Linked DNA regions of Homo sapiens: regions 1, 2 and 4 are each linked to region 3. Evidence: promoter capture Hi-C in 16 types of primary human blood cells and fetal thymus (Javierre and others, 2016). All regions are on one chromosome and are shown on one strand. Each heading gives the region's core, a stretch centred on a gene start or on the middle of the fragment in contact. The rest is flanking DNA. Distances are from core to core; before and after follow the strand shown. Region 1 holds the start of TMBIM1 (transmembrane BAX inhibitor motif containing 1). Region 2 overlaps STK36 (serine/threonine kinase 36). Region 3 holds the start of GLB1L (galactosidase beta 1 like). Region 4 holds the start of ZNF142 (zinc finger protein 142).

Region 1 (3,255 bases), core at 675-3,174, 950 kb before region 3:
ACTGCCAAGGGCCGGGGGACATATCCAGCTACCACAGAACCAGGAAACGGGCACCCCTAACCTCACCTCTGTGCAACGGGGCAAAGCACAAATCATTACAGACAAAAGTGGGAGCTCATTAATATCTCCCTTCCCACCAATGGAGGTACCTGCCACTGTAGCCTGTCGACTTCTGGATATCATTTCTACTTCAAAACAAGACCCAGGTTTTGGCCTAGAATCCCAGAATCTTAGGGTTGGAAGATTCTGTCAAGGTCATCCCTTCCACTGTGTCCCCAACAGAATAGGTCCAGAAGGCCCATGTCATGATCAGACATGTTGTTAGCAGAACTTCTTCCCAGAGAATTGTATGAGCTTCCACTCTCTGGTCGTCCCAGTTCAGCCCTCTGAAAACACACAAGTATGTGTGTTTCCCTTCTCTGTGGCTTCTGCTTTTTCTGAAAGGCCCAGGGTGAGGCCTGCGGTTGGAGGTGCTCTGAGGTAGACAGCGTCTGGCTGAGGCACCCATTCCCAGGGGAGGAGGCTGAGCCCAGGTGGCTATTACCCCAGCTCATGACATGAGGCTCTCCCAACACTTACAGGATAACCCATCATTACCTCTCTGAAGGGCTCATTTTTACAAGTGAGGCCTTGAGGTCATAGCACAGAAAGACAGGGCCCCTGACACTGTGGTCCTGCCTCTTCCATTTAAGCTATAAACTGGTTCTCTGGATCCTCATGACTGGAGAGACAGAGAGAGGAGGCAGGTGAGAAGGAAGTATGGCTCCCCCTTTGCGCCAATAAAGCAGCCCCAGGAGGCACCTGGCTCCCCTGCCACCACTGGCCAGCCCAAAGTCGCCAGCTTGGAAACCAAAGCTCACTAATGAGATGAATATTTCAGAGCCCAGAGAACTGGACACCTGAGGGCCCTTCCATGACATCTGGCTCTGACCTGCGTTCCCAGGCCTACTTATCCCATGTCCAGGGTGCTCAGGTAGAACCCCAAACTCCTGGGTACCACGTAGAGGCCACAGAGGAGGGAGAGGAGATGGAGACCCCATAGGACAAGAATTGGTGCCGACCCCACAAGGCCAGGGCCTGGCCTCCCAGCAGCCTCCCTCTGCTTCCTCCCACTGGTCCCTGGCTCCTGCCCCAGTCTCTCCACTTGCTTTCCCTTTTCCCGTTTCTCTGTTTTGTTTTCACTCTAACCCAAAGAAGTCACGAGGAGGATGTTACTCCCCTGTAGTTCTGTGAACCCAGCCGGGAAACAGTGGCTGGAAGTGGGACTGGCAGAGGGCAAAGTCATGGTGATAGAGGTGGCCACTTCCCCATGCCAAACACTTGAGCTGCTCATTGGCTTCTGCCCCAGCTGCAAGCTAGGACCCCCCCTTCCCCACCCCTTAAATATTCACCTGTCTACACCGAGACTGGCCTCAGCGCGTGTGGGGGCAACCTGGGGTCCGTGCCAGGCCCTGGCTGTCTCCCCTCCCTCTTCCCTCTTCTCACCAGCTGAGGGCCATGAAAGCCCTCATCCCACACAGCTGGCCACTCGGGCTGGCATGGTGGATAGGCCCTGCGACAGAGAGGCCACTCGTGCCCGAAAGAGGGAACACGAGGACACCCCCAGACCCTGGCTCCGCTCACCAGTGCCCACAACACGCTGCTGGGCTCCCAAGGCTAACCAGGTGCCACAGACCCGGCCGCCCACCCGCGCGCCCAGGGAGAGCGAAACGCCAAGGGCCAGGAGGGGAGATCCCCATCTGGAACGGGCTCCTTGGGCCCAGGAGCGGGCAAGCCGGGAGCGCGCTCCGAAAAGTTTAGGCGCCCCGGCGCATGGCCGCCCCAGCCCTGGACCAGTCCCCACCGCCCACAGTCCCCAACGGCGCCGGCCCCGGCCCCCTGGCTTGCCTGCGCCGTTCCAGACGGAGCGTTCCTGGCCTCGGAGTGTTGCAAGTCCTCCGGGGCCGGGCAGGGCTAGGCTCGGCTGGGGCTCCGCGCCCCGCCCCGTCGCGCCGGCCTCGTGGGGCGGGGCCTCAGGGCGCCGCCAGGGGGCGCAGGGGTCTGTCCCGGGCGCGCGCGCCTCTCAGAGCCCCGACGACGCCTCACTAATAACACAGGGGTATTTTCGGATTTAAAGGCAATACATGATACTGATAGGAAGCTAGAAAAGACACAGAAATGCAGGGAAGAAAGTAATTTCTCTCCACCCCTCCTAGTTCCCAGGGGGAAGCGTTCGCTTTGGGTCCTTCTTTGGCTATTACATTTCTGTATGTATTTTGTTTTTCTACAGTGGGGTATATTGTATGGTGTTTTGTTTACTGCCCTTCTTTTTACTGTTTTATGATGAACATTTTTCTTCTCACTAAATAGTCTTCAAAAGCACAATCTTAATGCCGTGAAGTATTCCATTGCATGGCTATGCGGATTAAATTAATTTCCTACTGGAGGCCGTTTGTTTCCCATTTTTACATTACAAATAAATCAGTAATTAAAATCCTTGATAATTCTGTGTTTTTGAGATAAATGCACTTTTCGAGTTTAAAACTGCAAACATGCAAACCTAGAATCTCTGTTTATAATTACTCAACCAGGAAAGCAGGTGCTTTCCTCAAGTCAGAATTCAGAAGTCCTACATTGAGATGTAGATTACTACTGTTAGGTAGGTCTTAACCCTCATCTCAGTGAAGAATGCAGTAGCAAAGGAGGAAACAGTTTTGAGGAAGTTCTGAAATATTACTGGAGCCTGGGCATGGTGACTCACACCTGCGATCCTAGCACTTTTGGGAGGCCAAGGCCAGAGGATGGCTTGAGCCCAGGAGTTGGAGACCCAGCCTAGGCAACATAGAGAGACCTTGTCTCAATTTAAAAAGAGAAACATTACCGAGCCTTGCCTGAGTTTCTGTGGTTCCAAAGTCCAAGTTCTTTCCATGACACCAAGGCTGCCAGTAGTTGACCAACTCTGTTTAAAGTGCTTATCTCATGTTAATAGCTATAGGTCAGCACCACACCACCACTGAATGTCCTTTTTTTTTTTTTTTTTTTTTTCCAGACAGGGTCTCGCTCTGTCACCCAGGCTGGAGTGCAGTGGCGCCATCTCGGCTCACTGCATCCTCCTCCTGGTTTCAAGTGATTCTCCGGCCTCAGCCTCCTGAGTAGCTGGGATTACAAGTGTGTGCCACTACACCCAGCTAATTTTGTTTGTTTGCTTGTTTGTTTTGTTTGGTTTGTTTGTTTTGTAGAGATGGGTTTTCACGTTGTTGCATAGGCTGGTCTCAA
Region 2 (3,239 bases), core at 520-3,019, 540 kb before region 3:
GTCTCTACTAAAAATACAAAAATTAGCTGGGTGTGGTGGCAGGCGCCTGTAATCCCAGCTTCTCGGGAGGCTAAGGCAAGAGAATCCCTTGAACCTGGGAGGAGGAGGTTGCAGTGAGCGGAGATCATGCCTCTGCATTCCAGCCTGGGTGACATAGCGAGACTCTGTCTCAAAAAAAAAAAAAAGCCCATTGGAAATCACAGATATCTACATATGGTAATATAAATTATGACATCTCAAAGTGGTAGCATTGGGAAGTTCATGCAGAGCAGAAATTTGAGAGGATGGTGAAGATCTTTTTTTTTTTTTTGAGACGGAGTCTCACTTTGTCGCCCCCAGGCTGGAGTGCAGTGGCGCGATCTTGGCTCACTGCAAGCTCTGCCTCCCGGGTTCACGCCATTCTGCCTCAGCCTCCCGAGTAGCTGGGACTACAGGCACCTGCCGCCACACCCAGCTAATTTTTTGTATTTTTTTTTTTTTTAGTAGAGACGGGGTTTCACCGTGATAGCCAGGATGGTCTCGATGTCCTGACCTCGTGACCCGCCCGCCTTGGCCTCCCAAAGTACGGGATTACAGGCATGAGCCACCTTGCCTGGCCGATGGTGAAGATCCTATAGGAATCTTGTGCAATCCATGGGGAAAATAATTAATGGGATTCTTGGTGGTAATGAGGTTAGAACTCACTGGTCTGCATTGAAGGCTAGGAATTAGACCTTTTGGCTTACTGTGAGTTACTGCTGCATTCATCAAGTCTTCCTGGGGACAAGTATATGTGTCCCTTAGTGCCTTGGTTTCATGGTCTATAACCAAAGAGAATGGAAGTAGACTTCTGGTCCTGATGATTCCTATCTCCAAGGTTTCTCTTCTGCCATTCAGTCTATTCCAAGTCCCCAAGAGCCCATTTCCTTTTTCTTCCTCTTCTCGAGTGGGAATTCCTGGGTAAATGAGAGTCCTCCGCACCTGCCCCAGACACCACCATTTCTGAGCCTCATGTTCTGTTCTATCATCTGTTCTCTATCCTACAGGTACTGGTGTCCCTGGGTGCCAGTGAGAAACTATCCTTGCTCTCTCTGGGGAATCAGTCACTGCCACACAGCAGTCCTAGGCCTGCCTCTGCCAAACACTGCAGGAAACTCATTCACCTCCTGAGGCCAGCCCATAGCATGTGATTCCAGATTCCTGCGGTCCAGCCTCCAACTTTGGTTGCCAGCTCTTTCTTATTCTACTACACAAGCCGCCAACTCAACTGAGAGCTAAAGAGACTAGAAAAGAGATAAGCTGCCAACTCAACTGAGAACAAGAAACTAGAAGAGATTTATATATAAAGCTTCTTCCTTCTCCCAGATGCAGGATGTTTTCAACCAGTAAATTTTATTGCTGTTGGTGCCAGAGAAGAGTCCTTTCTTCTCTACATCCAGGGGCCTTTTCTCCAATAATGTGCCTTTAACTCTAGGGACCTGCCTCACGGACCTTAGGGAAAAACCTCAACCTGAAAGATCTCTTCCTTTCTGGAGCTCCTTTAATCTTCCCAGCAGGTTTTTGCCTTAGACGTGCTGGCCCCAGGACAGTGATGAAGACAGAGCCTGTCTCAGCTCTAGGCTGTGGGGATCAATGCCATCAGTCCCTGTTATTGAGGGATTATCCCTTAGCCAACATTCCTATCTGTGGGTGGGCGTGGAGAGTGTATCTTTTTTTGGGGTGTGTGTGTATATGTGTGTGTGTATGTGTGTGTGTGTTTAATAGTTCTGTTTGTAAACTCTTTTAATAAAAGTTGTGCCTCACCATACTTGAAGCTCCCAGGACAAGGGTTGAGAGGCTCAACCCCTCTTTCAGCTTCTATGTGGTGTTGGAGGTGCTGGTATCGTGTTCACACAAGATCCTGGTCTGGCAGCTTATTTATATCATTTCTTGCCTTTACCAATTTCCCCCTTCCTAGATGAACTATATTTGGTTACCTACTTTCAAGTCAAGGCCGGTGGAGCTGAAATAGGAAAGGGTAAGATTCAACAGAGCGGTCAATTAGGTTGCTCAGACTTAGTGACTAATTTTAATATTTAGTGGAGTTCTAATGTGTAGGGACTCCAAGCTGCTGTAGAAGGATAGCTATTTTAAAGATTGTACAATTTACCAGAAAGGGCTTTTAGTCAGACCTGTTAGAATTATAATCTAACTGGAAGCATTGGAAAACCTTAACTCATTGGATGGCTTAGAACAAGCTTCCAGGGCCTTGATTTCTCCATCCATAAAATGAGGAGACTCCTTTCTGTCCTTCCTTAAATTCCAGTTGTTTTAGAAATGAAAGACAAGTAAAGTGCCCTTATTTTTATAAGAAATTTTGTTTAACCCTCATCTTCATTGTCCACAGTGTTTATACTTTAGCAAAAATAATATTTTTCTAGGGAGCACCATAATTTTCTTCTATCCAGATTATCTCAATTCAGTTCAATGTATATTTTTTGAGTCCTTTCTGTATGCCAGATACTATTCTAGGTACAGGAGATAAAACAGTGCCCATCATAGAGTTTCCATTCTGGTCGGGGAGATAGTGAAATTATTAAAAGAATAGTATGTAGGAAGGTGGTAAAAGCTATGGAGAAAAAGAAACCAGGGAAAGGAGATGAGGAGTGCTGAGTCGGATGGTCAGGGTAGGCCTCACTAGAAGGTGACACTTGAGAAAAGACTCGAAGGAGGCGAGGGAGTGAGTTGTGCACCTATTTTGGGGAAAAGCCAAGGCCCTGAGATGAAAGCATGCCTGGCATGCTTGAGGAGCTATGAGGAACCAGTATGGATTAAGTGAGTAAAGAAGGTGGAGAATAGTAGGAAATGAGACAGGAAGGTAATGGTGGGGGCCAGATATTGTAGGCTTTGTAGACCTTGGTGAAGACTTGGGCTCTTACTTTGAATGAAGGAGGCATCTATTGCAGGCTTTTGAACAGAGAATTTTATGAACTACCTTGCATCCTAAACGGATCATTCTTCATTCTGGTCTTGTGAATGGCTATGGGGAGTAGGGGAGAATGCGAAGTAGGATAAGCAGTTAGGAGGCTATTGTTATAATAATCCAGGCAAGAGACAATGGTGTCCTGGATGGCGACTGGGGTGATACCTATGGAGTGATAAAAAAGTAGTCAAATTTTGAATATATTTTGAACATGGAACAAACAGGATTTCTTGACTGATTGGAGGTGAGGGTATGACCAAAAGAAAGCAGTCAGGGATGACTCCAAGGTTTTTGGTCT
Region 3 (3,070 bases), core at 94-2,593:
CCACTGCACTCCAGCCTGGGCAACAGAGCGAGACTCTGTCTCAAAAAACACAAACAAACAAACAAAAGAAATGTAAAATCTCAGATCCTACCTCAGACCTATAGAATCAGAATTTGTATTTTAACAAGATTCCCAGGTGATCCTAGGCACCTTCAAAATTGAGAAGCATGGCTTTACTTGACTGGGCTCCCTGAGGACAGGGAGTGCCCTGTTCATCTCAAATCCTCAGCCTCTAGCACAGGGCCGGGTATATAGTAGGTTAAATCTGGATGAATCAATGTCATAACCAAAAGGCTAAAACAGGTTCAGAACCAGGGGAAACCATTGGAAAATCTTCAGGGTGATCCGGGGTGTGGAAGGGAGGAACCAGGTCACAAGAAGGACCTCTTTCCTGGAGAGTCCTGTTTCAGCAAAACAGCCATTCCCTCCTGGCCATTCCACCTTCTTTGGAAGTGCACCCCTCTCCAGCTTACCCCTGCCTGCCTCCGCAACAGATATTAAGGACAACTGCTTTGTGCCAAAGCTCGAAAATCTGTGAATTTCCGTTCCTTTTGCCTTTACAGTCTCAAGAATGGGATGTGAAGATCAGGGTAATAATAATTACGGTTTATTGACACGTACTGAAGGCTATGTGTCAGATATTGTATTAAACACTGTACATCTCATTTAATCTTCAACTCCATGAGGTAGATAATTATTTCCATTTTACAGAGGAGGAGAGGAAAGGACAGAAACATTAAGTAGCCTGTCCAAGGTCACACAACTACGTTAACGGAGCTGTCATTTGAACTAGTCAGTCTGGCCTCACAGTTAAGCTACTTAACCTTATGTACTATTATACCTATTTTACAGCTACCAAAAGTAAGGATCCGAGAGGTTAAGTAACTTGCCCGAGGTTACACAGCTAGCATGCTATTAACACTCAATTTAGAAACTGGAAGTCTGGTTCACAAGCCTGAGCTCTTAACCACTGAGACTAGGGGTAGTGGGATACAGGCCAGAGCCCAGAAGGTTGTACGGGATCAGGAGACCAGGCCACCAGACCCGCCCCTCACTGGATCCCCCTCCAGGCTGCAGTGTAGTTGGCCGCTTTCTGCCCCAGAGCGCCAGAGGTATGAAGCCTCCTACCTCCAACATTGGGAGATGGAGGTCCTGGGGGCCTCGGGCCGAGCCCGGCTTTGCTCCCCTTTGGCGTAGGTGCCTGCGTCTTGACCCCCACCGAAGGCCAAGTAGAGAACCCTCACCAGGGTCCTGGGACCCGTCCACCCCTACACCTAGCTAGCCCGGAGCCTCTCAGCTCCGCGTCCCCACATCCTCCGGATGCCCAGCGGTTGCTGAGATACCGCGGGCCGTTACGCCGGCGCGGACTGATGATGTCAGCACTGCTTCCGGTCGGTGGCGCTTCTCTCTGGCCCGAGCCAGGTCAGTCCGGCAGTGCAGATGGCCCATCCCGGGCTCTGGGCTCCTAGACCGGGGTGGGCCCTGCCAGGAGTGGGCCTGAGCCTCGCACGTCCTCTGAAACTACGCTATGCTCTGCTTTTGCGGCGCGATGGGCGTGGGAGCGGGGGCTGCCCAAAGATGGGCTGGGGTTGGAGGAAGTGGCCCGGTAGCCGCTGTGTGTCCTGAGGCCGTAAGGCGCCTGACCCCACCCCTGAAGCTGGCGACGGAGCAGGGCCTGTTTTCTCTACACTATAGTGTAGGTTCCAGAGACCTGGGCCTGAGCTCTCCGCATTGGTACTTCATGGGTCGTCTGGATTGTGCCGGACCTGTGACCCTGCCGTTGTTTTCTTTCCAGCATGATCCGCTGGGCCCCCAGCGCATCTCCTGGAAGAGCCCACTCACCCTGGACGAGCTCTTCGGTAGCCTCAGACCGTCCTTGAAGAGGATGACTGAGACATTATGGGCCACGCGCTGTGTGTCTGCTCTCGGGGAACTGTCATCATTGACAATAAGCGCTACCTCTTCATCCAGAAACTGGGGGAGGGGTGAGTGTTTGGAAGTCAGTTAACTAGTCCTCAAGTTTATGATCATTGAAGGACAGCGGTGTGCATATGCTTGGGGCACAAGGGTTTTATCCCTATCCCTGTCCTCTCTCACCTGACAGAACCTAGCTACACAGTATCAAGAAGGTGGATTCTGGAGCCAGGCCTGCTAAATCCACCTCGTGTGACCTTGATAAACCATGTTTTTTTCATCAGCTTAATGGAGATGATTATTATCCCTCACTGATGGAGTTGTGAGGATTAAATGAGATAATGTGTATAAAATGTCTCACCCAATGCGGGGTTGACAAGTACTTGATAAGTGTTGGCTATTATTTATTTAGCATCTGTCAAGTGCAGAGGTCTCTATTACGACCATAGGACCTCAAAGATTTCTATATCTCTGCTCCTGAGGAGCTCACGGTGTAATATTCTTCAGATTTCTCTTAGAGCCACATCTTGGGAAGGTTTCTGCTAAATGGGAAGGACACCCCACTCCCCACCAGGAAATTTCTCTAGGTCCAAGCCATGTGGGAGATGACCATGGCCCTTTATTGACCCCTTTGGCCCACAGTGGGTTCAGCTATGTGGACCTAGTGGAAGGGTTACATGATGGACACTTCTACGCCCTGAAGCGAATCCTGTGTCACGAGCAGCAGGACCGGGAGGAGGCCCAGCGAGAAGCCGACATGCATCGCCTCTTCAATCACCCCAACATCCTTCGCCTCGTGGCTTACTGTCTGAGGGAACGGGGTGCTAAGCATGAGGCCTGGCTGCTGCTACCATTCTTCAAGGTCAGAAAGACTCCTGGTTATGGAGGGGGTTGCAGCAGAGCCACCTACTCAAGGGCTGTGTGAGCAGTCCAGCATGTTAGGAAGCAGGGACCATGTCCTGGGTTTGGCCACTTTAGATTTTGAGTTTGAGGTGTGTATCATGAAAGGGCTGATAGGCTTTGACATAGGGAAGGGATCAGGCCTAAGGAGCAGAGGCTCCAAAAACATCTCCAACTGTAGGGAAACTTGTGTTGCAGAGAGGTACGCTGTGGAATGAGATAGAAAGGCTGAAGGACAAAGGCAACTTCCTGACCG
Region 4 (3,326 bases), core at 827-3,326, 590 kb before region 3:
GCCTCCTGAGTAGCTGGGATTACAGGCATGTACCACCACGCCTGGCTACTATTTTGTATTTTTAGTAGAGATGGGGTTTCTCCATGTTGGTTGGGCTGGTCTTGAACTCCAGAACTCAGGTGATCCACCTGCCTCGGCCTCCCAAAGTGCTGGGATTACAGGCGTGAGGCACCGCGCCGGGCCTGGCTTCCCGAAACTCTTATCTTCTCTCTTCTGGCGTCCTAAGGGCACTCTGTACACAGCCCTATCAGAAACGAGGTCACACTGCACTGTTGTTTACCTGTCAGTCTCTCTCCCTAGATGTATAGCTTTTTTAGTAATTTGTTGACATTATCACTTCAATGATATTACTTTGTGATACTGACATTATCACTTCAACGAACACAAATCACCCACAATCGAAGATTCCAGTGAAGAACCACAGATATGGAGCTGCATTGGAGTAAAGCTAGGTATCTTGTACAAAACCAGTGGTTCCTCACCTATAACGTAACACATTTGGAGAAATTTCAAACTCATTAACTGACTATGGCCTCAAACTAAATATGGGAACATAACTGAGGAATGAATGACAATTGAATTGCATACCCTGTTATACATGGCTAAAATGAGTTTAAGCTGAATAATTAGTAATTAATAAGAATGATGGGAATCACTTCATGAAATTGAGTCACAGACAAGATGCAAAAAGAAAAAAAGAAGAAGAAACCAGGCCGGGCGCGGTGGCTCAGGCCTGTAATCCCAGCACTTTGGGAGGCCAAGGCGGGCCGATCACCTGAGGTCAGAAGTTCGAGACCAGCCTGGCGAACATTGTGAAACCCTGTTTCTACTAAAAATACAAAAAATCAGCAGGGTGTGGTGGCACACGCCTGTAATCCCAGCTACTCGGGAGGCTGAGGCAGGAGAATCGCTGGAACCCGGGAGGCGGAGGTTGCAGTGAGCCGAGATCGCACCATTGCACCCCAGCTTGGGCAACAAGAGCGAAACTCCGTCTCAAAAAAAAAACAAACAAAAACCAAGATCCTGCAATCTGATAGTCCCTATTTCCAGAATCCCATGGACTCAAAACAACAGATCACAGGGATTCACAAGGTGGCTGGAAAGTGCACTCCCGTGGTCAGAGGGATTCTCTGGAAACTGCAGCCTCCACTTACTGAATATTATCGCTGTTCTGGGGAATCTTCAAGCTTGACCATACATGGCCTCCGGGGGGAGCCAAGGAGGACGCTGAGCCGTCAAGATTAAGAACCTTCACCTGCGGGAGGGCAGGGTGAGGTAGGAGACAGGTGGGCACCAGAGAAGAAATACGCTTATCTTCCGGGCAGGAGGGCTGAGGAAGAGAAAGGACAGACTAAGGCAGAGAGAAGGCCTGGAGAAACAACGGGCCCCGGCCTAGCGACCCAGGTTCCCACCTGCCTCTGGCTCTGACTCACCGCGTGGTCTTGGACAGACACAGTCGCTTCGCTTCTCTGGGCCTCAGCTTTCCTATCTGTAAAATGGAGGTGATGACAGTGTCCACATCGTCGGGCAGGAGCTGGATCATAAGAGCCAGCGAACTGGAAAGGCGGTTTGTAACCTGGAAGGCTTGGGATGGAGCATCGTCATGATTTTGTCCTGAGAGCAGCAGGTACCCGGGCGGGGTCCAGAACCGTGACGCGACTGCAGCGCCGGGGCCCAGCTCGTCTGGGTGCTCCCTTCAGTACCTCCTTCCGAGAGTTCCCAGCGCCCAGGCCCACCCTGATCCCGGGGCTCGAAAAACTTTGCCTCCAGCTCGCTCCACCCGCATTCCCTTCCCAGTTCCGCCCCGCAGCCGCTCACTCACCTCCAGACCCAGAGCCGGCGGGAGCCGCATCTCTATGGTCGGCCGCGGCTGGAACGGCCCCCGGGGCCCGCTTTGTGCGACCGCCTCCGGCTCAGCCGCCTCTAGGATATTGGGGATGTGGAAGCCACTCTCTCTTCCTCTTGCCGGCTGCCGGGGTACTCTATGTTTTGTCTCTGTGGTTTTTCCCGCCCTCCACCCCCACTCCAGCCCTGAAGCCGGAGAAGCACCATCGAGAGCTCTGGGGTAGAGTGGCGTGGGCTTCTCTGTGGGTGTGGCGGGAAGTAGATGAAAGGACCCGGGGCGGGGCCGAACGCAGCTTCCCCAAGGTGCAGGCGCGGTGAAACCATCGAGACGGAGGGCCAGAGAGTCACGGCGGTGAGAGGGCTGAGTGACGGGTTACCCCAAACCATGTGGCTGGAGGCGCGAGCTGGGGTGTGGGCGAGGTTCAGGAGGGGGTTCCTGGGTGTCGCGGAGGGGCCGGGGACGGGAGAGCTTTGTCTGTGGCCTTCCATGCATAGGTGTTTTGGAATTCTGGATCCCAGTTCTGAGGCTCAGCCGAGGTCACTGCTGTCAGCTCACCTCCCTGCATGCCAGGCGCAGGGCAAAGTGGCCGGGGTTCGGGGTTGGAGGAGAGGTGTACTAGAAACAACTTTGCTCTTGTCCCTCAGGATCTTATTGTCTACGATGTGACGATCCGTGGAGAAAGTAGCAGATGGGCAGATTTTCATTTGGGGAGAATGAGGGAGAAAAGAACGGGCATTCCGAGCCAAGAGCACTGCATGAGCAAGGAGTTGGGAGGTTGCTTACTTGTTGAACATATTTGTTGCGTATTTGCATATTTGCTAAACAGGTAGTGTTAGGAGCTAATCCATGAAAGGTAGGTGGGCGCCGTATTGTAGAGAGCCTTGAGTACCAGGCTGAGTTTATACCCAATTCAGGGGTCTGCTGGGAGCCAGCCATTGAAGGTGCTGGAGCAGAGAGAGATATGGTATTGGAGCTGATCCCTATGATGAAAGATCTGGACCCTTGTGTAGATGTTCCGTGAAGCAGGAGGTGAAGACCTATTAAAATGCCATTTCAAGAACTACGATTTTAAAGACAGTTTAGGTGGGAGGTAATAAAGGTCTAAACAAGACGTTAAATATTGGGGACGTAAGGGGGAGGATATTTGAAGGACATTACTCATAACAAGACATAGGGTTACTGACAAGTCAACGGACGCTTCTCCCTTGCTGACTGCAGCCAATGGACCCCTTTTTATCATAGCTGGTCCCAGGGACCACAAAAATCCTGTCCATCCATTACCCTGATGTGAAGCCTGTTTATATAGCTCTTTTTGGTTTAAGGCATCTCCAGACATGGTCCTCTGGTAGGAAACAGGTATGAGTAGACTAATGAAGGACAAAATGGGATGAGGGACCTGGAGCCTCCACCCTTGCATTCCAATACCACCCTTACCCCACAAAAGGAGGGTATTGACCCACACAGTAATGCTGACCTGTGG

What was found. The method cuts DNA at HindIII sites, captures the fragments that hold promoters and counts their contacts. A CHiCAGO score of 5 or more calls a contact.
Region 1: the fragment with the promoter of TMBIM1 here is called in contact with the fragment with the promoter of GLB1L in region 3 in 1 of 17 cell types (naive CD8 T cells); the score reaches 5.5 in naive CD8 T cells.
Region 2: a fragment that was not itself captured here is called in contact with the fragment with the promoter of GLB1L in region 3 in 2 of 17 cell types (total B cells and total CD8 T cells); the score reaches 6.2 in total B cells.
Region 4: a contact is called between the fragment with the promoter of ZNF142 here and the fragment with the promoter of GLB1L in region 3, in 1 of 17 cell types (non-activated CD4 T cells). The highest score is 5.3, in non-activated CD4 T cells.

Annotation. Positions count from the first base shown.
Region 1 is chr2:218,290,579-218,293,833 of GRCh38, forward strand. It overlaps TMBIM1 (transmembrane BAX inhibitor motif containing 1), which reads right to left and starts at 1,925. Exons shown (of 12, transcript NM_022152.6): 1 at 1,888-1,925. All of the region lies in intron 2 of PNKD (PNKD metallo-beta-lactamase domain containing), which reads left to right. RefSeq lists enhancers at 493-1,457, 1,458-2,420, 2,603-3,255 and a silencer at 1,703-2,182. The HindIII fragment of the contact is 24,107 bases long and covers 1-3,255 here.
Region 2 is chr2:218,700,841-218,704,079 of GRCh38, forward strand. It overlaps STK36 (serine/threonine kinase 36), which reads left to right. Exons shown (of 27, transcript NM_015690.5): 27 at 1,026-1,875. The coding sequence ends at 1,169. Among named protein-coding and RNA genes, the nearest start is that of TTLL4, 8.4 kb to the right of the region's middle. The HindIII fragment of the contact is 889 bases long and covers 1,326-2,214 here.
Region 3 is chr2:219,244,101-219,247,170 of GRCh38, forward strand. GLB1L (galactosidase beta 1 like) reads right to left here and starts at 1,344. Exons shown (of 17, transcript NM_001286423.2): 1 at 1,129-1,344. STK16 (serine/threonine kinase 16) reads left to right here and starts at 1,379. Exons shown (of 8, transcript NM_001330213.2): 1 at 1,379-1,696; 2 at 1,796-1,985; 3 at 2,557-2,776; 4 at 3,013-3,070. The coding sequence starts at 1,900. RefSeq lists enhancers at 1,060-1,642, 1,091-1,520. The HindIII fragment of the contact is 6,920 bases long and covers 1-3,070 here.
Region 4 is chr2:218,657,547-218,660,872 of GRCh38, forward strand. It overlaps ZNF142 (zinc finger protein 142), which reads right to left and starts at 2,077. Exons shown (of 11, transcript NM_001379659.1): 1 at 1,823-2,077; 2 at 1,434-1,584; 3 at 1,155-1,330. It overlaps BCS1L (BCS1 ubiquinol-cytochrome c reductase complex chaperone), which reads left to right and starts at 2,137. Exons shown (of 8, transcript NM_001079866.2): 1 at 2,137-2,197. RefSeq lists enhancers at 1,201-1,320, 2,131-2,260. The HindIII fragment of the contact is 10,571 bases long and covers 1,186-3,326 here.